7 separate regions of the Homo sapiens genome follow, and regions 1, 2, 3, 4, 5 and 7 are each linked to region 6. Evidence: promoter capture Hi-C in human tissues and cell types (Jung and others, 2019). All regions are on one chromosome and are shown on one strand. Each heading gives the region's core, a stretch centred on a gene start or on the middle of the fragment in contact. The rest is flanking DNA. Distances are from core to core; before and after follow the strand shown.

Region 1 (2,700 bases), core at 109-2,608, 450 kb before region 6:
ATCTATTGTTTCTTTTGTTGCCTGTGATTTAAGTGTCTTATGTAAGAAATCATTGCCAAATCCAGTGTCACGAAGACTTTATTATGTTTTTCTAAGAATTTTATAGTTTAAGGTCTTAAATTTAAGCCTGATCCATTTTGGGTTAAGTTTTGTATATCATTAGCTAAGGGTCTAACTTTATTCTTTTGATTTGTATGTCCAGTTTTCCTAGCACCATTCATTCTGAAAAGACACTTTTTCCCTCACTGAATGGTAATGGCATCCTTGTGGAAAATAATTTGACCACTGTATGCAAGGACTTATTGCTAAGGCTCTGTATTCTATTCCATTGGTCTATATGTCTGTCTTTATACCAATACTACAATGTTTGGATTACTGCAGCTTTGTAATAAGGTTTAAAGTCAGGAATTATGAGGATTTCATATTTCTTCTTCTTTTTCAAGACTGTTCTGGCTCTTTGGAGTCTGCTGAGATTCTATGAACATTAGGATAAATTTTTCTACTTCAGCAAAAAAAACTTGTTGGCATTTTAATAGGGATTGAATCTGTAGATTGCTTTAGGTAATAGTCACATCTTACGTTTTACAGTCCATGAGCATGGAACATCTCTCAATTTATTTTTGTCTTTTTTTTTTTTTTGAGACAGTGTCTCACTCTGTCACCCAGGCTGGAGTGCAGTGGTGCGATCTCAGCTTACTGCAATCTTCACGTTCTGGGTTCAAGCAATTCTCCTGCCTCAGCCTCCTGAGTAGCTGGGACTACAGGTGCACCTCACCACACCCAGCTAAGTTTTGTATTTTTCACCAAGACAAGGTTTTGCCATGTTGGCCAGGCTGGTCCTGAACTCCTGACCTCAAGTGATCCACCCGCCTTGGCCTCCCAAAATGCTGGGATTACAGGTGTGAGCTACCACACCCAGTGTCTTCTTTAATTTCTTTTAACATTTTGTAGTTGTCAGTGTTTTCAGTCTTTCATGTGTACTTAAGAATATTCTTTAGTACAGACAGACCCCCAACTTATGATAGTTTGACTAAAAAATTTTTCGACTTTACAATAGGTTTAAGACATAAATCTGTTATAAGTTGAGGAATATCTGTATTTTATTCTTTGTACTATTACTGTAAATGGAATTATTTTCTTAATTTCCTCTTCAGATAGCTGAGTTAGTGTACATAAATATAAATACAACTGATTTTGTGTTTTGACTTTGTGCCCTGCAATTTTGCTGAATTCATTTATTAGTTCTAACCATGTTTCTGTGAAATCTTTAAGGTTTTTATATATAAAATCATGTCGTCACACATACAAACAGGGATAACTTTACTTCTCCCTTTCCAATTTTGATGGCTTTCTCTTCTTGATTAATTACTGTGGGCAATTAACTTCAATACTATGGTGAATAAGTGGTGAAAGCAGACATCCTTGTCTTGTCTCTGATCTTAGAGGAAAAGCTTTCAGTCTTTGACCACTGACTGATTTTAGTTTGCTGAGACATCCTTGCATTACATTTGGTCCAAGCCTTTTGACAGACTGCTAAACTTGGTTAACTTGGTTTTGCTAGTATTTTGTTGAGGATTTTGTATCAATATTCACAAAGGATATTGGTCTGTAATTTTCTAGTAGTATTACTGTCTGGCTTTGGTATCAGGGCATGTTAGAGTCACAGAATGAATTCACTTGAGAAGGACTGATGTTAATTCTTCTTTAAACGTTTGGAGAATTCATCAGTGAAGCCATGTGGTTCAGGACTTTTCTTTGTTGAGAGGTTTTTGATTACTGATTCAATCTCCTTATTAATTATAGTCCTATTCAGATTTTCTATTTCCTCATGATTCAGTCTTGGCAGGTTGTATGTTTCTAGGAATGTGTCCGCTTCATTTAGGTTAAGCAATTTGTTAATGTACAATTCTTAACAGTATTCTCTTATAATCCTGGCATCAAGTAATCCTCCCACCTTGAACTCCCAAAGCACTGAGATGACAGATATGAGCCCAGCCCAAAATCCAAAACTCTTGAGTGCCAACGTTGTACTCAAAGGAAATGCTCACTGGAGTGTTCAACTGGTAAGTATAATGTAAATATTCCAAAATCAGAAAAAAATCCAAAATCCAAAACACTTCTGGTCCCAAACATTTCAGTTAAGGGATACTCAATCTGTATTTTGAATGTGGCTTTTTCTTGATTAGGCATTTTCTTAGCTGGGCTAAGAAACCTCTGACTGTTTTCCAGAGCTTCTATAAAGTTATTCCATCTAGTCCCTAGTTGCTTATTAATGTTTTCTATGGTGGAACGAGAACCTGGAGCTTCCTGGACTGCCATTTTACCAATGTCAGAATACATTTTTTTAAGTTTTATTACATGAATAAAGTAACTGCTAATTGAGGGATTACTGTGTGCTACATTCTTGTCTAATCCCTTTATATGTAGCATGTAATGTAATCCTCACAACAACCCCAAGTGACAGGCACTATTATTTTCTCCATTTTATGGATGCAATTTGCCCAAAGGATCACAGCCAGTAAGTGGTGAAAGCAGGGGAGCAGCCCCAGTCCCTGGCTCAAGCCCCCACATTTAACCACGATATGACATACAGCAGAGCTGGCTGCCTCAGGCCACTTTGCTGTGGCCCTTCTGGTCTGGTGTGCTTTGTTCAGACTCTGGCGAATATCCACAGTGGATGTTTTCTTCTAGATCTGGTCA
Region 2 (2,700 bases), core at 102-2,601, 330 kb before region 6:
GGTGGGCCCCCAGACTCTGCCACAGGCCACTGTGGGTCCACTCCTATTGGAGCTCTAGCACCTGTCAGCCTTCTAGGCTGGCCCTTTACTCAGCAGCAGGGCCAGGACATGGGGGCCTCAACTAGACACTGAAGAAGCAGAGAGCAGTCAGGATGTGATGTGGGGCTGAAGAGAAGGGTAGGGACTCAAGTTCATCTTCTGTGGCGAATCACCTCCTCAAAGCCCCACCTGCTTCCCCACCAACCACAAGGCTCCTCAGGCCTCCCGTGAAGGAGAGGAACCATCCAAGGACAAGCCCATTTCAGAGACTCTTGCAGGTATCACGCGAGTGGACAGACTTGAAGTGGGGCACCAGCAGTCCTAGCTTCCCTTGTGGGACACCTGGTACCATGTGCACTCTTGGCCCTTTCAACAGGTCCATGCAGCATGGCCGGAATGCCGTTTAAGGTGGAGTATAACTGCCATGTTCCCACCCAGTTCCTCTGGTGTTGAGGCCTGCAGGGACACACATCTCTGTTGGGCTCAGCTGCTGGGATCTGGAGCCCTCTGCACTACAGGAGGAATGGAGCGGCGGGGCCCCTCTGGAGCGTCCTCCAGATCCAAGCTGAAAGACAGGATGGGGTGAGTCCACTAGCCACGCGCCAGGACATGGAGCACTGGCAGGCCCGTGCCCACTAGCATGGTCAGCAAGGACAGCCAGCACCCCAGAAGACATGGTAGTATCCCTGTTTTATACAAGGGAAAACTGAAGGCTGGGCGTGGTGGCTCACGCCTGTAATCCCAGCACTTTGGGAGGCCAAGGCAGGCGGATTGTGTCTGTAATTTATTCCTTCCGGTGGGTTCTTGGTCTCACTGACTTCAAGAATGAAGCCACAGACCCTCATGGTGAGTGTTACAGCTCTTAAAGATGTTGTGTCCAGAGTTTGTTCCTTCAGATGTTGAGAGGTGTGAGTTTCTTCCTTCTGGTGGGTTCGTGATCTGGCTGACTTCACAAATGAAGCTCCAGACCTTCGCAGTGAGTGTTACAGCTTTTAAACCTAGTGCAGACTCAATGAGTGAGCAGCAGCAAGACTGATTGTGAAAAGCAAAAGAACAAAGCTCCCACAACATGGAAAAAGACCCGAACAGGTTGCACTGCTGGCTCGCATGGCCAGCTTTTATTCCCTTATTTGGCCCCACCCACATCCTGCTGATTGGCCCATTTTACAGAGCGCTAATTGGTCCATTCTACAGAGTGCTGATTGGCCCATTTTACAGAGTGCTGATTGGTACGTTTTTTACAGAGTGCTGATTGGTGCATTTACAATCCTTTAGCTAGATGCAGAGTGCTGATTGGTGTACTTACAATCCTTTAGCTGGACACAAAATTTCTCCAAGTCCCCACCCGACCCAAGAAGTCCAGGTGGCGTCACCTCTCAAGATCACCTGAGGTCAGGAGTTTGAGAACAGCCTGCCCAACATGGTAAAACCCTGTATCTATTAAAAATACAAAAATGAGCCGGGCGTGGTGGCAGGCACCTGTAATCCCAGCTACTCTGGAGGCTGAGGCAGGAGAATCGCTCGAGGCTGGGAGGCGGAGGTTGCAGTGAGCCAAGATCGCGCCACTGCACTCCAGCCTGAGTGACAGAGTGAGACTCCGTTTCAAGAAAAATAATAATAAAACAAAAAAAGAAGAGAAAACTGAAGCTGAGATTCCGCCACAAGCTCCAGGATAGCTGGTTGGCGTGCTGTGCTGCACAACCTGAAAGAAGCGCCCACCGGATGCCAGGCACCTGCCATGGACCACTTGGTCGGGAGGAAACATGATGTCCATTGTATGGATGGGATAACGAGGTTCACAGCGGTGACACCCCTAGCCCACATGGAGAGAGACAGTGAATGGCTGAGCTGGGGTGCCCCCCGTGTGAGTTAGCAAGCTCCCCTGCTCAGGCTGCTGCTGGCCCAGCCCTATGGCTAAGTGGATTCCTGCTATCGTGTGCCCCAAATACAGATTGGATGTCGTCCATCTGATTGGACCCCTGCACTGGCGAGTATCCTCCTACCCCCTTCACACCTGAGCTGACAGTGTCTGTCTCCCACACGGCAGGGTGTAGTAGAAGCATCATGAATCACACAAGGAACTGGACTCAGCCATCAGCCCTGCAGGCACCAGATGAGAGATGCTGCTCTCCCACACAGTGAGTCTCAGCTGTCCTGCTATTATTTTATATGCCAGTAAGAAACAAAAGCATGGCCACTTCCACCACGGCTCAGCAATTTTTAAAAACACCCTAATATCAGAGGAGTTACAATGTGAATAAAATACACACAGGATTGATCAAGTATGGATTTTCCAGCACACAGACAAATCTACAAGGCAGCAGCCACGTGTGCCAGGCCACAGTAAGGTATGACCTGGCCGCACTCCCTCCAGCAACCTGCAGACTCTGCTCAGGGTGGGACGCCCCATCAAAGGCCCCCACTTTCACGTACCACCATGCCCAGTAACATGGATGTCCTCCAACAAGAAGCTCGGGCTTGTGGCCTGGTGCTCAATACTGGGTTCCTTCAAATAGTTCCCAGGAAAGGCAGAGGCTGAAGGCCTCACCTGGCAGCACACGTGCCACTCGCGCCCACCCTCAGTAGCCGCATGTGGAAAAGAGGTGCATGAGCGAGGCCACAGCTCACTGCTGTGCCACTCCAGTCACAAGCCGACTGTGA
Region 3 (2,700 bases), core at 180-2,679, 280 kb before region 6:
TGCGATCTTGGCTCACTGCAAGCTCTGCCTCCCGGGTTCACGCAATTCTCCTGCCTCAGCCTCCCAAGTAGCTGGGACTACAGGCGCCTGCCACCATGCCCGGCTAGTTTTTTTGTATTTTTAGTAGAGACAGGGTTTCACCGTGTTAGCCAGGATGGTCTTGATCTCCTGACCTCGTGATCCACCTGCCTCAGCCTCCCAAAGTGCTGGGATTACAGGTGTGAGCCACCACGCCTGGCCTTATGTTTAACTTTTTGAGGAACCACCAAACTGCTTTCCACAGCATCTGAACATTTTTATATTCCTACCACTAATGTAGGAGGGTTCCAATTTCTCCATAACATTGCCAACACTTCTTTTCTTTTCTTTTTTTTGAGATGGAGTTTCGCTCTTGTTGCCCAGGCTGGAGTGCAATGGCGCGATCTCGGCTCACTTCAACCTCTGCCTTCCAGGTTCAAGCAATTCTCCTGCCTCAGCCTCCGGAGTAGCTGGGATTAAAGGCATGCACCACCACACCCGGCTAATTTTGTATTTTTACTAGAGATGGGGTTTCTCCATGTTGGTCAGGCTGGTCTCAAACTCCTGACCTCAGGGCCAACACTTATTTTCTACTTTGTAAAAATTATAACCATTCGAGTGGGTGTAAAGTGGTACTTCATTGTGGTTTTGAATTGCATTTTCCTAATGGCTAATGATGTCAAGCAAGTCATTTGCCCACTTTTTAACTGGGTTGACTTTTTGTTGTTGAGTTGTAAGTGTTCTTTGTATATCTGGATACTAGACCCTTATCAGATAGATGATTTTCAAATATTACATCCCAGGTTGTCTTTTCACTTTATTGGCAATATCCTTTTATGCACAAAAGTTTTTAATTCTGAAGTCCAAATTATCTATTTTTTAATTTTGTTGTTCAGGCTTTTGGTGCTATTATATATCTAAGAATCCATGCCAAATCCAAAGTCATAAAGCTTTCTCCTTATGTTTTCTTCTAAGAGTTTTGTAGTTTTACCTTCTACATTGAGGTTTCAGATCTATTTTGAGTTTATTTTTGTACATGGTGTGAGGCAGGTGACCAACTCCATTCTTTTGCATGTGGATATTTAGTTGTCCCAGCACCATTCCTGAAGAGACTATTGTTTCACCATTGAACAGTCTTGACACTCTCATCAAAAATCAATTGGCCACAGATGTAGGGGTGTATTCCTGGACCTTACATTTTTTCCCATTGGTCTACATGTCTATTCTTATGCCCATGAGGTGTTTTGTTGTTGGTAAATGCATGGGATTTTTTTATTTGTTGTTTTTTAGTTTGTCAGTAAAGCATATACATGTAACTATGATTTATAATTTTTGTTTTATATTCTTCAAACATGATGATTTCTTTGTAAAGAGGCATAATTCCCAAGAGTTTTTATTTTGTTGTTGTTGTTGTCATTTGTTTTGTTTTGTTTTGTTTTTGAGGCAGAGTTCCACTCTTGTTGCCCAGGCTGGAGTGCAATGGTGTGATCTCGGCTCACTGCAACCTCTGCATCCTGGGTTCAGGCGATTCTCCCGCCTCAGCCTCCCAAGTAGCTGGGATTACAGGCACATGCCACAACTCTCGGCTAATTTTTGTATTTTTAGTAAAGACGGGGTTTCACCACATTGGCCAGGCTGGTCTCGAACTCCTGACTTCAGGTGATCCTCCTGCCTTGGCCTCCCAAAGTGCTGGGATTAAAGGTGTGAGTCACCGTGCCTGGCCCCCAAGGGTATTTTTAAAAGCTTAATTGAGATATAATTCACATACCATAGAACTTATCTATTTAAAGCAAGCTTGTCCAACATGTGGCCCAGTATAGCCTTGTATGTGGCCCAAACACAAATTCATAAACTTTCTTAAAGCATTATGAACTTTTGGCTGGGCATGGTGGCTCACACCTGTAATCCCAGCACTTTGGGAGGCCGAGGCAGGCAGATCACCTGAGGTCAGGAGTTCGAGACCAGACTGACCAACATGGAGAAACCCCATCACTACTAAAAATACAAAATTAGCCAGGTGTGGTGGTGCATGCCTGTAGTCCCAGTTATTCAGGAAGGCTGAGGCAGTAGAATCGCTTGAACCCGGGAGGCGGAGGTTGCGGTGAGCCAAGACCATGCCACTGCACTCCAGCCTGGGCAACAAGAGCAAAACTCGGTCTCAAAAAAAAAAAATTATGAATTTTTTTGCAATTTTTGTTTTTAGCTCATCAGCTATTGCTAGTGTATTTTATGTGTGACCCAAGACAATTCTTCTTCCAGTGTGGCCCAGGGGATCCAAAAGATCAGACACCCCTGGTTTAAAGCATACCATCCAATGTTTCTTCGTATACTCAGAGGGCTGTGCAATCATCACTACAACATAGTTTTAGAACACTTTCATCCTTTGAAAGAAACCCTATTAGCATTCAATCCTCATTCCTATCTCCCAGACTCCACCTCCAGTCATAGGCAACTACTTATCTATTTTCTGTGTCTATAGGTCAGACTATCCTGAACATTTCAAATAAATGGAATCATATAGTATGTGGTCTTTTGTGACTGGCATCTTTCACTTAGCTTAATATTTCCAAGGTTCATTCATGATGTATTTTTAGTAGAGATGGGGTTTCGCCATGTTGGCCAGGCTGGTCTTGAAATCCTGACCACAGGGTGATCTGCCTGCCTCAGCCTCCCTCCCAAAGT
Region 4 (2,700 bases), core at 67-2,566, 370 kb before region 6:
CAGCTCCTAGAGTCATCAGCAGCTCCCCTTCGGGGACTTCTTGACGCCGGGCAGGAGCCTCGCGGAAGCCGACGCGCGCTTCTGGTGTCGCCATTTGGCCCGGCGGTTCTTGAACCAGACCTGGGGATGGGGGGAATGCTCAGCCCTAGCCCCAGGTCCTGCGTCCCACCGGCTCCCGAGGGTCCCACAGGGACCGAGAGGGGAGCTTCGCAACAGGGATGTGGGCGGACGGCGCTGTAGAGCCGACACCCGGGCCGCGGCTGCGCGCCACCTGCCCTTATTCGCTGCGGACAGACTCGGTGGGTCTGGACGCGAGATGGGAACCCCCTTAGTACCCGCCCCAGCCTCCAGCTGGCGGCGACCAGGACGCCCCTTCTTGGGTTGCGGGCTCTTCTGAATTTCCCAAATTCTGGACGTGAACGCGGGCCTCTTTCGTCACCAGAGGAAAGTGTAAAACAAAAGAAAAGAAAAGTAGCCCTCCGGTTCCTTTCCCGCGGCACCTCCCTGCTCTCACCCGCTCCTCATACCCCCGGACGCCCAGCGCCGTCCAGGGACCTCCTCCCTCCGGCGCGCCAGGGCGGGGCTTGGGCCGAGGCCGTCTTTGCAAAGGGCGCCCGCCCGCCAGGACCCCAGTCCAGTGTAGCCGCGGCCCGCGCGCTCCGGGGAAAGGCTGGGCGGGGCACTCACCTCCACGCGCTCCTCGCGAAGGCGGATGCGGCCGGCCAGGCGCTCGCGCGTACTCACGTCAGGATACTGGTTCTGCACGAAAAGCGCCTCGAGCGCCTGCAGCTGCTCTTCGCTGAAGATGGTGCGGTGGCGCCTCGTGCGCCGCTGCGAACCCGGGCCGACCGCGCCCGGGAGCGCCCCGGAACCTCCGGCTGGCGCACCCAGAGACAAGGGCACCGCCGGTCCCAGCCTCAGCGGCCACGCCAGACGAGCGCCTGCGGAGCGAGGGCGCGGTGAGGCGCGGGGCTGGGGCCAAGCTCGGCACCCACTGCGCCGCGCCCCGGGCTCCGCCGGGCCCCGCGCCCCGCTCCGCGCCCACTCACCCAGCCCGGCGGCCGCCTCTGGGGGCCCGCAGGGCGCCGCGCGGGGGCCGCAGCAGCAGCAGCAGGCGCAGGGCGCAGCCTCGGGCGCCCCGGGCTCCTCTGGCTTCGCGGGGCTCTGGCGACCGGCGGGCTGCGGTGGGCAGGCGGCCCGGGCCGGGAGGCTCCGCTCGGGCAGGCTGGAGAGGATGTGCTCGATGGAGAAGGGGCAGGGCCGCCCGGCACCCCGGCGGCTCGCCGCGCCCCCAGCCGCTGCCGCCATGCCCGGCCCGGCCGGGGCGCCGCCGCCGCGGGAATATATACGTCGGGGAGGGAGCGCGCAGTAATCCCCGGGCCGGGCGTCCAGTCCACGCGGGTTAATCCCGCAGCGCCGGCCGCGAACGCGCTAATCCTCGACTGCGGCGGCCCTGCCTCCGCGCGCGGGGGCCGGGGGCGCTGCAGAGAGGGCCCCCTGTGCCCCCCACCCCGCCCCGCGTCCTCCTGCCCCACCCGCGCCCGCCGCTCAAGCTGGCAGGGCGACCTGCGGGGAAGGGGCGGAGGGCCGCCTCGCCGCCGCCCGCGGGGCCTGGCAGCCGCTCGGAGGGCGCCCCGACCCTGGCAGCTCCCCAGAGCGCGGCGGTGCCTCCCGGCCCAGCCTCTGGTGGCTCCCCCTCGTTCGGCTGGGCCTAATTCCTCGTCCCCTCTGGGGCCCTACTGCGGCGGCTCAGCACGCCTGCAGAAGCTCGGCCTAGCCGCCCACCCGAAACTCCTGGACCGCAGCCTCCATGGGGCCCAGCACCACCGGCAACCGCACGATCCCGCCGCGCTCGGGTCCCGAACCTGCCCGCCACCTCGGAGCCAGGGTCTCATGGCCCTGGAGGGCGTGAGAGCGCGGCAGGAAGCCTGGGCTGCCGGGTGCCCCCAGTTCTCCGTCTCCTCACCTGTGTCAAGGAGACCTCCCCGCCCCTTCCGAGGCCCCTCCTCGGTGCTTCAGAGCCGCCTGTCCTCCAGCTTTCCCACTGGTCCCAGAATCCCCGCGAAAACATCCAACACTGCACCTCGCCCTTCCCCGCACTGTCACTGCCCCCCAGAAGCTGTGGGCTCCCCCTCCTCGCTCTCCGCCCAGGCCAGTCCTCTGGCCACACCGTCCTCGGTCCCTTCTGCCACAGCGCAGGTGACCCGCACTTGGCTACATTGTTTCACCCTCAGTGAAGCGGCTCCTGGCAGCGGGACCGTCACTTCAGCTTAAGACCCTTTCCTCTTGACCTTTGAAAATACAGTATGGGACTCATAGCACAGAGAAACAGACGGCCTGGCTCATACTCCGTTGTCAATTTCTGGCCGTGTGACCTCCATAGGCGTCTTCAGCCTCTGGGCTTGGCTTTCCCAATCTGTAAAGTGTAGTGACTAGGTGTGAGACGGTTAGAACCTGGCCGCCTCCCCAGGGCAATGCGTATTCCTGCGCTCCTCCCGCCGCCAGCCCCTCTGCAAGACTCTGCCATCCCCACTCTGCTATCAGTGAAAGTGCTGTGGACATCACTGTGACCGAACCTGCTGATTTAATTTCTGTCACAAGAGCTCCCACATAGGTTTCCCAGGGGTAGTCTGGAGGCTCAGTGATGAGCTGCCACCTCCATGAGTGGCTCTGTCAACCCCTCCTCCACCCACCTCTTGG
Region 5 (2,700 bases), core at 102-2,601, 420 kb before region 6:
AAAGGGACGCGGCTGGCGATGGAGGAGTGCATCATCAGAACACCAACCTGCGTCAGACAGAGAGCAGACCTGGGAGGGCAGAGCTAGGAAGTGAGGAAAGGCAGGACCTGGCATTCCAAACAGTGCACAGACCATCCCAGAACCAACTGTGATCACATCACAAACTCCCTGCCTTCTCTACAGTGCTCAAATGCCATCTGCCCTTTTATGGAGTCCAAGGGCCACCTCTAACCTTCCCGCAAAGCCCCACATCCAGGTTCTTGGGGGTCCCGGCTCACCAGTCCCTGCAGCTCTCCCCTGAAGCCCGTCTAGCCCCTTCCCCATCGCTGCCACTGCCCCGTAGCACCAGCAGGCCAGCACACAACCTCCCCACCCCTGTAGCTTCCTGGAACCACGCAGGGAGACTGGCTTGGAAAGACGCCCCAGAGATCCGTTGCGAGACAAACAGCAGGCTTCAGCTCCTGGCCCGTGCAACCCTGCTCAGCCTCGCCAGGCTGCTTCCTCCATCTGTAAAGCATGGAGGTGACCATCCTGCCCTGCCTATCCCTCCTGACTTCCACGGAGGTGATGAGGCCCAAAAGAGAAAATTACTCCAACAATGCTCAGCTGCTGAAGTTTCACATATGCCACCCTTAGGAACAATCCTGGGAGGTCCTCTGCAGAGATAAATGCTCTGAGAGGGACCCACAAGGGCAAAGAGAGGATGGGAGGCAGGAACCATGGCCAGGGGTTCTGTGCAGTTTGACCTGCCACTGCGTCTCAGCAGCAGGGGGCAGTGAAGACTGCTGATACCTGGAGGCCTGAGCATCCTCTGTACTGGCAGCCACCAGGCTACAGCACCAACGATGCCAGCATCTGAACCTCAAGCCACAAGGAGCCCAGAGGCCAGCCGGCTCCTCACCCATGAGGGCCCAGAGTTCAAACGGGAACAAGACATGTGTGGCTCATGGAAAATGATGAGATTGGAAGTTTCATTAGCAAAATGTGAAGGAAGGCCCGAAGCTGTTCTATGTATTGAAACCCCCAACTAGTCCAGCCAGCTAGCTTCTCAGAGGGGCTGACCCGCCTACTCAGTGTCCCACATCAAGTTGGCAGCAGCAGAATGGGCATCAGAGGTCAGGCTGTGGGCTCTTTGACCCAAATCCCCATCCCTGAAGCCAGCAGAGCCCCTGGGTGGGGCTCTGCATTCTGACTCCCTAGAGGACCAGGTCCAAACTTTCCAGTTCTGAGCCATTTCCTTCACCGAGACAGCAGTCAGCAGAGCCTCTGGGGGCTCACTGCACAAAGCCCAGGGATACCAGAGCCCCACCACCAGTCTGGTGCAGAGCCAAGGATGTACCAACATATTGTACTTTTTTTCCCTACCAGTGGCCAGTTACTAGAACAAAATATTTTACACCTGCAAACACTCCTGCTGTGGTTTTGAAATATGCCTGCAACTTCTTTGATATGGCTCCCTAAATGGCAGTAGCTCCCCAAACACATAACCACCAAACCCATTTCCAAACAGCCCCCGGGGCAAGTGGAATCTCTGAGTGAAGGCTCCACCCTCAGTCACTCCTCCCCTGGACCCTGGAGCTCCTGACTCCCCATCACCACCACTGGAGACAGGTGGCCAGCTCTCCTGCAACAGTGGAGAGGGAGTAGGGTTGCCAAGCGCTAGGGGAGTGCCAGCCACTTTCTCCCACAGCCCAAGGGGTCACAACACTGACACTGGGGAACACCACACAAGAACAAAGGGACAAGGCCTATGCTTCAGCATTTATTTCTCATAAATAACAAGCATTTTCTACCTCCAGGAGAAGAAGTGATCACCACCTGCTACCATCTATCTGTAGATGCTGTCCAACCAAAACACTGGCTCAGCTGCTCTGCCCTGTGGCTTCTCCTTAGGCAGATGTTTGGGAAAGAAGGCCCTGTTTAAAATAAGTTATCCTAGAAAAGAAGGGAAGGTCCTAAGAAAAAGGAAGGGATCATATAAGATGAAAGAAGAGAAAGGCAGGTCCACCAAGCATACCTATTCCATGAGTGACACTTTCAAGAAAAGAACAGCAACTTGCAATCAGTCCTTATTTCATGGGGGTTCGGGCAGGAGGGGCTACATACTTGGGAATAAGACCAGGGCAGGAGGGTGGGACAGAACTGGAGCGAGAGCTATCTCGCATCTGATGTAAACATCAGCCAGCAGTTTCATCCAACACTCGCACCACATTTCGATCATAGCCACAGGATAGCGCAGCCAATTTCTCTAAGAGAAAGAACAGCTGTAGTCAAATCAGATTCCTGAATGCTCATTTTGCATGTGCCAGGCAGTATATCAAGTGCTTAGAATACATTATTATGAATCCTTAAGACAACTCATTTGCTCCTTCCATGAACACCGCCGTGTACCTCCTAGGGGCCAGGTGTTGTACAGGACACAAGTGAGAAGAGCAGGAGGAGAACCATAAGGTGTCTGCCCCCACGAAGCTCAGATTTTACTAGGGAAGGAGAAGAACTTCGTAACCTTGGGGTAGGCAAGGATTTATTAGACAAAAACAGAAAGCATGACCATAACAAGAAAAAATGATAAATCAGACTTCTTTAAAATTAAAAAAGTCTTTGATCAAAAGCTTAGTAAAGATACACAGACCACACTGAGCACAGTAGCTCTCACTTGTAATCCCAACACTTTGGAAAGCTGAGACAGGAGGATCACTT
Region 6 (2,700 bases), core at 129-2,628:
TTCAAACCATTTACTAAGCAGATTCTTAGCCTTCCCACTCCCGCCCTCTCTCAAGCTCCGGTGCCCACAAGCCTTGCCTGGGGAGATGCTGGAGTGAGACCGGGAGGTCCAGGCCAAGTCACTGGTCCCTGGGCTCGGGCCCTGCCGATGGAGTAAAGACCAGCTGTACACATCTTCCGGTGGGGGCCCTGGGCTCTGCATCCGCCCCTCCGAAGTCAGCAGGAGCCTCTGGGAAGTAAGGCAGCAGCCAAGACCCCCAGCGTCTTGGAGGGGAAGCGAAATCCTCAGTCTGACACCCGCTCTGCCTATGGAAACAGCGCCGCGCACAGAAAAGGAAACTTCATTCCGTCTGTTAAGGGCAGGGCCGGGCTAGTGGCAGGAGAAGGTCAGCTGCGGGCGCAGGCAGGAGCGGATCCAGGAGCCGCGTCGGGGCGCAGAGCCGGACGTTCCGAGGAGCCTGCGCGCCGCGCTACCCGGCGGAAGCCGCGGTCCATGCGGGGCTCCCCAGGCTTATCCAACGCCTCGCAGGCGTGGCTGGCAGGAGGGGCCCGGCCGTGCCCAGCGCCCTCAGACGTAGTTCTTCTTGTCGTAGTCGCCGGTGGCCGTGGGCCGCCGCGGCGCTGAGTACTTCACGGGGAAGCTGAGGTCGGGACGGCCGGTGCAGACCCAGGCGCCGCAGCACAAGAGGCAGCCGCCTACCATGAGCAGCGCGGTGGCCGCCCAGCCGATGTACAGCGCTGCGCCCAGCTCGTACTTCTGCGACACGGGCACAGACGGGTCGTAAAACTCGCGGACGACAATGTTGGCGAACCAGCAGAGTGGCACGAGCGCCAGCAGCCCGCAAAACAGGTAGAGCACGCCTCCCGTGAGGGCCACACGCGCCTTGGCCGGGCCCGGGGCCACGCAGGTGGTGCACTGCGCGCCCGCCAGGGTCACGAAGAGCGCAACGAACGCCAGCAGCACGGCGCTCACGGTGAGCGCCCGCGCCGCCTGCACCTCGGTGCTCAGAGCCAGCACCGAGTCGTACACTTTGCACTGCATGTGCCCGGTGCTCTGCACCACGCACGACATCCACAGCCCCTTCCAGGTGGTCTGCGCCGTCACGATGTTGTGGTCCAGGAAGGCGGTCACCTGCCACATGGGCAGCCCGCACGCCAGGATCAGACCCCCCCAGCCCACCAGGCACAGCACCAGGCCCAGGATCTCCAACGCTGCGGACCCCATGGCTAGAGGCGAGACGCGCACCCGAAGGCCCGCAGAACCCCCAAGGCCGTGCTGCGCGGCGCCCTGGGCGGGCCCTGGTGCCTTTGCGCCCGCGCTCCCGGCTCTTGGCCCCAGTCCGTTTGCCCCGCGGGTCTGTCGCACCTCCTGGGTCTGCCAGCTCCTGCCGGGGGGTACCCTCTTTGAAGGTTCGGGGGCGGATTCTGTCCCCCGGGCCCGGCCCCCCGGCCCGAAGCAGCCAATCCGTGCGCGGGTCATCGTGCCGCAGCCAATCACAGAGCCTCTGGCAGCTGAAGTTAGGGAAACAACGGCTCTTGAGGGGTAGCTGAGGGCGCGGGACCGCTCCCCGCCCGGCAGCCGCCCCCAGCCCCACCCGCCGTTGTCCTAGTCGCGGCCGAGCGCATTCTGGGCTGGCCTAGGGCGCGCTTCTTGGGCCGCCTCCCTGCGCGTCCCGGCCCCGTCACTTCAGAAGGCGCTCGACCCCCAGTCTGCACCACCCAGTCCACTCCCACATCCCCGACTGAGCCGGGTGGTCTCTTCCACTCGAGCCAGCTCCACTTCCCTGACCAAGGTTTGCAGAAGCCCCCCACCCCGTCACCGCCGTAGAGGCCCTCGTAGGGGGGCTCTCCAGAAAGCCCGCCCCGGGGTCCAAGCCCCACCCAGGCCCTTTCTCGCACTCTCACTCTCCAGCCCCGCTCTGAGTCCCAGCACTGTCTCTCTCATCCCATGGCAAACAGAGAGGCCAGGCAGGCGTGTGGAGGTCAGGCCCAGGGCCCCAGCCTCACCCCCCATGCCACTCACTGCCTCTCTGGAGCCTGAGTCTCTGGCAAAAAGCGGTGGCACAGGGGCTTTCCCCCTGCCTGGCGACCCCCACTCTCCCAAGCCGCAGGGGCTTCCCAGACCTCTCAATCTTCACAGGGGCTGCTCCTCTTCCTGCGGTACTGCCCGCACCCCATCCTTGGGGGCCCAGTTCAGGTGACACCACTTCAGGAAGTTCCCAGTGACCCAGCACACTGGGTGTAGCACCCAGGGGCAGTGGTGGCCCCAGGCCTAGCAGCCTGCTCTGGCCTTCAGACAGGAGAGACAAAGGGACACGGAGGGGCTGTGCCCTGCCCTCCCACCAGTGGCGATGGTGTCCCTGGCACCCCAGCCCCCAGGCCACCCTCCGGAAGCCAACTTGGAGTTTCCTGGCCAGGAGGAAGAGCCCCCATCCTTGCTGGAGGAGGGAGGCGCGGGATTTCCGGGCATTCTTCTGCACAATGGCCCAGCCATTTCTCGAAAGGTCCACTGGTGTGGACACTCCGGGCCCCCTGAGGCTCAGGTGGGGGCACGCGGCTCCAAAACCCACAGCCCCATGGGGGCACCAGCCCCTTTCTAGTAGTTCTTTCCCCAGTCTCTCTCGGCCCCTTTGTTTCCAGTAAAGTTTGAACTCCAGGCCCTGGACTGAGGCCACTGGGTGCCCAGTTCTTTTATCTGGTC
Region 7 (2,700 bases), core at 101-2,600, 410 kb after region 6:
TCGCCTCACCTTGGTCCTCCATGGTGGCTCACTGCACATAGTGCCACTCTCAGCCTTTTTAGCCTGCAAAAGGTGTCATCGTGTCTACTCTGCAAGCTACTGGCGAGGAAGGCAGGCAAGGGGCAGCCAAAAAAGGGAGGGATGGAGAAGGGACTGGAGGGAGGAAGTAGAGAGGGGAAGTACACTGAACTGGGCCTGAGGTCCGGGACACCCAGCACCAGGCACCAGCCAACTCCCTGCTGAAGGAAGGAAGAAATAATAGCAAGTCATCAGTCTGCTGGGGTGAGGGCAGGGTGGGGACTGATGACAAGACTCTAGGGTATAAAACAAGTAGTGCCCTCAGCCCCTCTGCAGACACGAGCCTGCCCAGATGAGAAGCACCACCCTCCCAGAGCATCTGGAGCCGGTCGCTGCTTCAGACAAGGCCAAGAGGTTCCATGATCAGAGCAGGGTCTGTCATACAAGGCTGGGCAACCTGCCCAACACCTCCATCAGAGCCTAGCGTCTGCCATGAGAAGGCTGCACTTATCTTTGCAGCCACCTCCACCTTCCTAGGCAGGCAAGGCTGCAGAGAGTGTACTTGGAGTGTCATGTCTCTCCACACCCTGGCCCTGCAGATGCCCCACAGACAGGTCTAGAACATGCACTCCTAAAGGATACAAGAGCTGGAGCCTAGAGGAGCCCTGGCTCACAGCTGAGAAAGCTTGGGAAGCTGCATCCAGGCACTCAGGCCATGGCCTGCAGCGAGCCTGCCCCACAACCAAACCCACCCACTCTTTCACCTGGCAGCCAGCCTCTGAGTGCACGTGAGATGTGTGCGCACCTGCGGGAACTGACAGAGCCACAACTCGGTTCCAACAGCCAGTCCAAAGCACACTCAATTCCTAATTCAACTCAAGGGCTCTGGAAAGGCCTAAATTGTTGTAAATTATTCTAATGGCTTTAATATAAGTCTAGAGAACCAAGGACTGCTGGTCAGGGAGAAAATGCCACCAGGTCCCCCGGGGAGCATGAACCTGCTGATGGAGAAGCATCTCTCTCCTCCAGCTGCCTGGTAGCCGGAAGCTTTGCTCAGAACGTCCCTACCTTCCATGGCAGGTGCCTGTCCTTCTTGTTGCCATAGCAGGGCCCTTGTTAGGTCATCCTGCCCTGCAGCCTCGCACTGTGCCCCCTCTGTCTGCTATCAGGCAGGGTGAGCAGCTGTCTGTATGGATGTGCTTATCTTGGGCAGCTTGCTCGCCCCCTGTGCACACCCAGGAGCCCTCTCGGGCTGATAAACACTGGCATAGGGCAGTCGTTTGCAAGCATAGGAAATCTGCCTTTAAGCACTTGGAAGGGCTTGGGTAGCCTGCTGGGAAGGAAGGACCCCAAAGTACCTCAAAGGTGGGTAGGGCAGATGCTGTTCTGTGGGAGGAAGGGCTGGGTGGCAGGCGTTACCTGGGGACACACCACCTGTGCACTCCAGTGTCCTGGAGAACCTCATAACCTTGCCTTTCACCCACTTTAGCCAGGCATACCCTCTCCACCTGCAGGGCTTGGCCCCAGCAAGTGTCTGTCTTGCCTCTGCCTTCTGACATATTGTCCATTAATTTTCTGCTCCTCTTTGAACCCACTGCCTGGTACAGGCCAGCAAAGAGCAGGAGCCCAGAGCTCATAGCAAGGCCCAAGAGAATGCAGCACTGCACCAGTGAGGGCAAGTGGAAGGGTCCCCCAAAATGTGCACCCACAGGCAGGCTGGCCACCTCAGGGTGCCACCTCAGGGGCCCTCCTGTATGGCTGCTCTATCTAGAGCTCTTTCCTGGCAGCAGGTGTTGTCATTCTGGCTCCTGTTCAGGGGCTGCATCGCCCACCCACTCCAAGCCTGGGACAGTTCAGGTCTTCCTACTCTAAAAGGAGAAACTGCAGGGCCCACAGTCCCAGCTACTAGGGAGGCTGAGGCTGGAGGGTGAGTTGAACCCAGGAGTTCAAGGCTGCAGTGAGCTATGATAGCACCACTGCACTCCAGCCTGGTTAACAGAGTGAGACTCTGTCTCAGAAAAAAAAAAAAAAAAAAACTGCACCCCTAGTCTGGGTACAGTGGCTCACACCTGTGTTGCAGGAAGTCAGGAACCCCGAATGGAGGGACTGGCTGGAGCCGTGGCAGAGGAACATAAATAGTGAAGATTTCATTTCAATATGAACATTTATCAATTCCCAAGTAATACTTTTATACTTTTTTCTTTTTTTTTTTTTTGAGGCAGATTCTCTCTCTGTCGCCCAGGCTGGGGTGCAGTGGCACAATCTCAGCTCACTGCAAGCTCCGCCTCCTGGGTTCACACCATTCTCCTGTCTCAGCCTCCTGAGTAGCTGGGACTACAGGCACCCGCCACCACACCTGGCTAATTTTTTGTACTTTCAGGAGAGACAGGGTTTCACCATGTTAGCCAGGATGGTCTTGATCTCCTCACCTTGTGATATGGCTGCCTCGGCCTCTCAAAGTGCTAGGATTACAGGCATGAGCCACCGCGCCTGGGCCCCCAAGTAATACTTTTATAATTTCTTATGCCTGTCTTTATCTCTTAATCCTGTTATCTTCATAAGCTGATAATATACATCACCTCAGGACCACTGTGATAATTGTGTTAACTGTAGAAATTGATTGTAAAACGTGTGTTTGAACAATATGAAATCAGCGCACCTTGAAAAAGAACAGAATAACAG

Evidence for each region. Contacts are between HindIII fragments. The study calls those that stand out against the background at their distance.
Region 1: a fragment that was not itself captured here is called in contact with the fragment with the promoter of CLDN5 in region 6 in 2 of the 25 tissues and cell types used here (dorsolateral prefrontal cortex and lymphoblastoid cells).
Region 2: a contact is called between a fragment that was not itself captured here and the fragment with the promoter of CLDN5 in region 6, in 4 of the 25 tissues and cell types used here (lymphoblastoid cells, mesenchymal stem cells, spleen and 1 more).
Region 3: a contact is called between a fragment that was not itself captured here and the fragment with the promoter of CLDN5 in region 6, in 3 of the 25 tissues and cell types used here (dorsolateral prefrontal cortex, lymphoblastoid cells and mesenchymal stem cells).
Region 4: the fragment with the promoter of GSC2 here is called in contact with the fragment with the promoter of CLDN5 in region 6 in 5 of the 25 tissues and cell types used here (dorsolateral prefrontal cortex, lymphoblastoid cells, mesenchymal stem cells and 2 more).
Region 5: a contact is called between a fragment that was not itself captured here and the fragment with the promoter of CLDN5 in region 6, in 3 of the 25 tissues and cell types used here (dorsolateral prefrontal cortex, lymphoblastoid cells and pancreas).
Region 7: a fragment that was not itself captured here is called in contact with the fragment with the promoter of CLDN5 in region 6 in 2 of the 25 tissues and cell types used here (dorsolateral prefrontal cortex and lymphoblastoid cells).

What each region holds. Positions count from the first base shown.
Region 1 is chr22:19,077,208-19,079,907 of GRCh38, forward strand. All of the region lies in intron 2 of DGCR2 (DiGeorge syndrome critical region gene 2), which reads right to left. Among named protein-coding and RNA genes, the nearest start is that of DGCR11, 30 kb to the left of the region's middle. The HindIII fragment of the contact is 4,816 bases long and covers 1-2,700 here.
Region 2 is chr22:19,192,839-19,195,538 of GRCh38, forward strand. All of the region lies in intron 26 of CLTCL1 (clathrin heavy chain like 1), which reads right to left. Among named protein-coding and RNA genes, the nearest start is that of SLC25A1, 15 kb to the left of the region's middle. The HindIII fragment of the contact is 7,428 bases long and covers 1-2,700 here.
Region 3 is chr22:19,246,120-19,248,819 of GRCh38, forward strand. The region is part of intron 3 of CLTCL1 (clathrin heavy chain like 1); the gene reads right to left. Among named protein-coding and RNA genes, the nearest start is that of CLTCL1, 44 kb to the right of the region's middle. The HindIII fragment of the contact is 4,231 bases long and covers 1-2,700 here.
Region 4 is chr22:19,148,976-19,151,675 of GRCh38, forward strand. GSC2 (goosecoid homeobox 2) reads right to left here and starts at 1,317. Exons shown (of 3, transcript NM_005315.2): 1 at 1,050-1,317; 2 at 688-941; 3 at 1-120. The coding sequence starts at 1,308. The coding sequence ends at 16. RefSeq lists an enhancer at 269-768. The HindIII fragment of the contact is 19,488 bases long and covers 1-2,700 here.
Region 5 is chr22:19,105,655-19,108,354 of GRCh38, forward strand. The region is part of intron 1 of DGCR2 (DiGeorge syndrome critical region gene 2); the gene reads right to left. Among named protein-coding and RNA genes, the nearest start is that of DGCR2, 15 kb to the right of the region's middle. RefSeq lists an enhancer at 480-980. The HindIII fragment of the contact is 7,252 bases long and covers 1-2,700 here.
Region 6 is chr22:19,523,032-19,525,731 of GRCh38, forward strand. CLDN5 (claudin 5) reads right to left here and starts at 1,379. Exons shown (of 1, transcript NM_001363066.2): 1 at 1-1,379. The coding sequence starts at 1,224. The coding sequence ends at 568. The HindIII fragment of the contact is 10,668 bases long and covers 1,149-2,700 here.
Region 7 is chr22:19,932,348-19,935,047 of GRCh38, forward strand. All of the region lies in intron 1 of TXNRD2 (thioredoxin reductase 2), which reads right to left. It overlaps LOC124905081 (endogenous retrovirus group K member 24 Gag polyprotein-like), which reads left to right and starts at 1,320. Exons shown (of 2, transcript XM_047441689.1): 1 at 1,320-1,383. The HindIII fragment of the contact is 3,352 bases long and covers 1-2,700 here.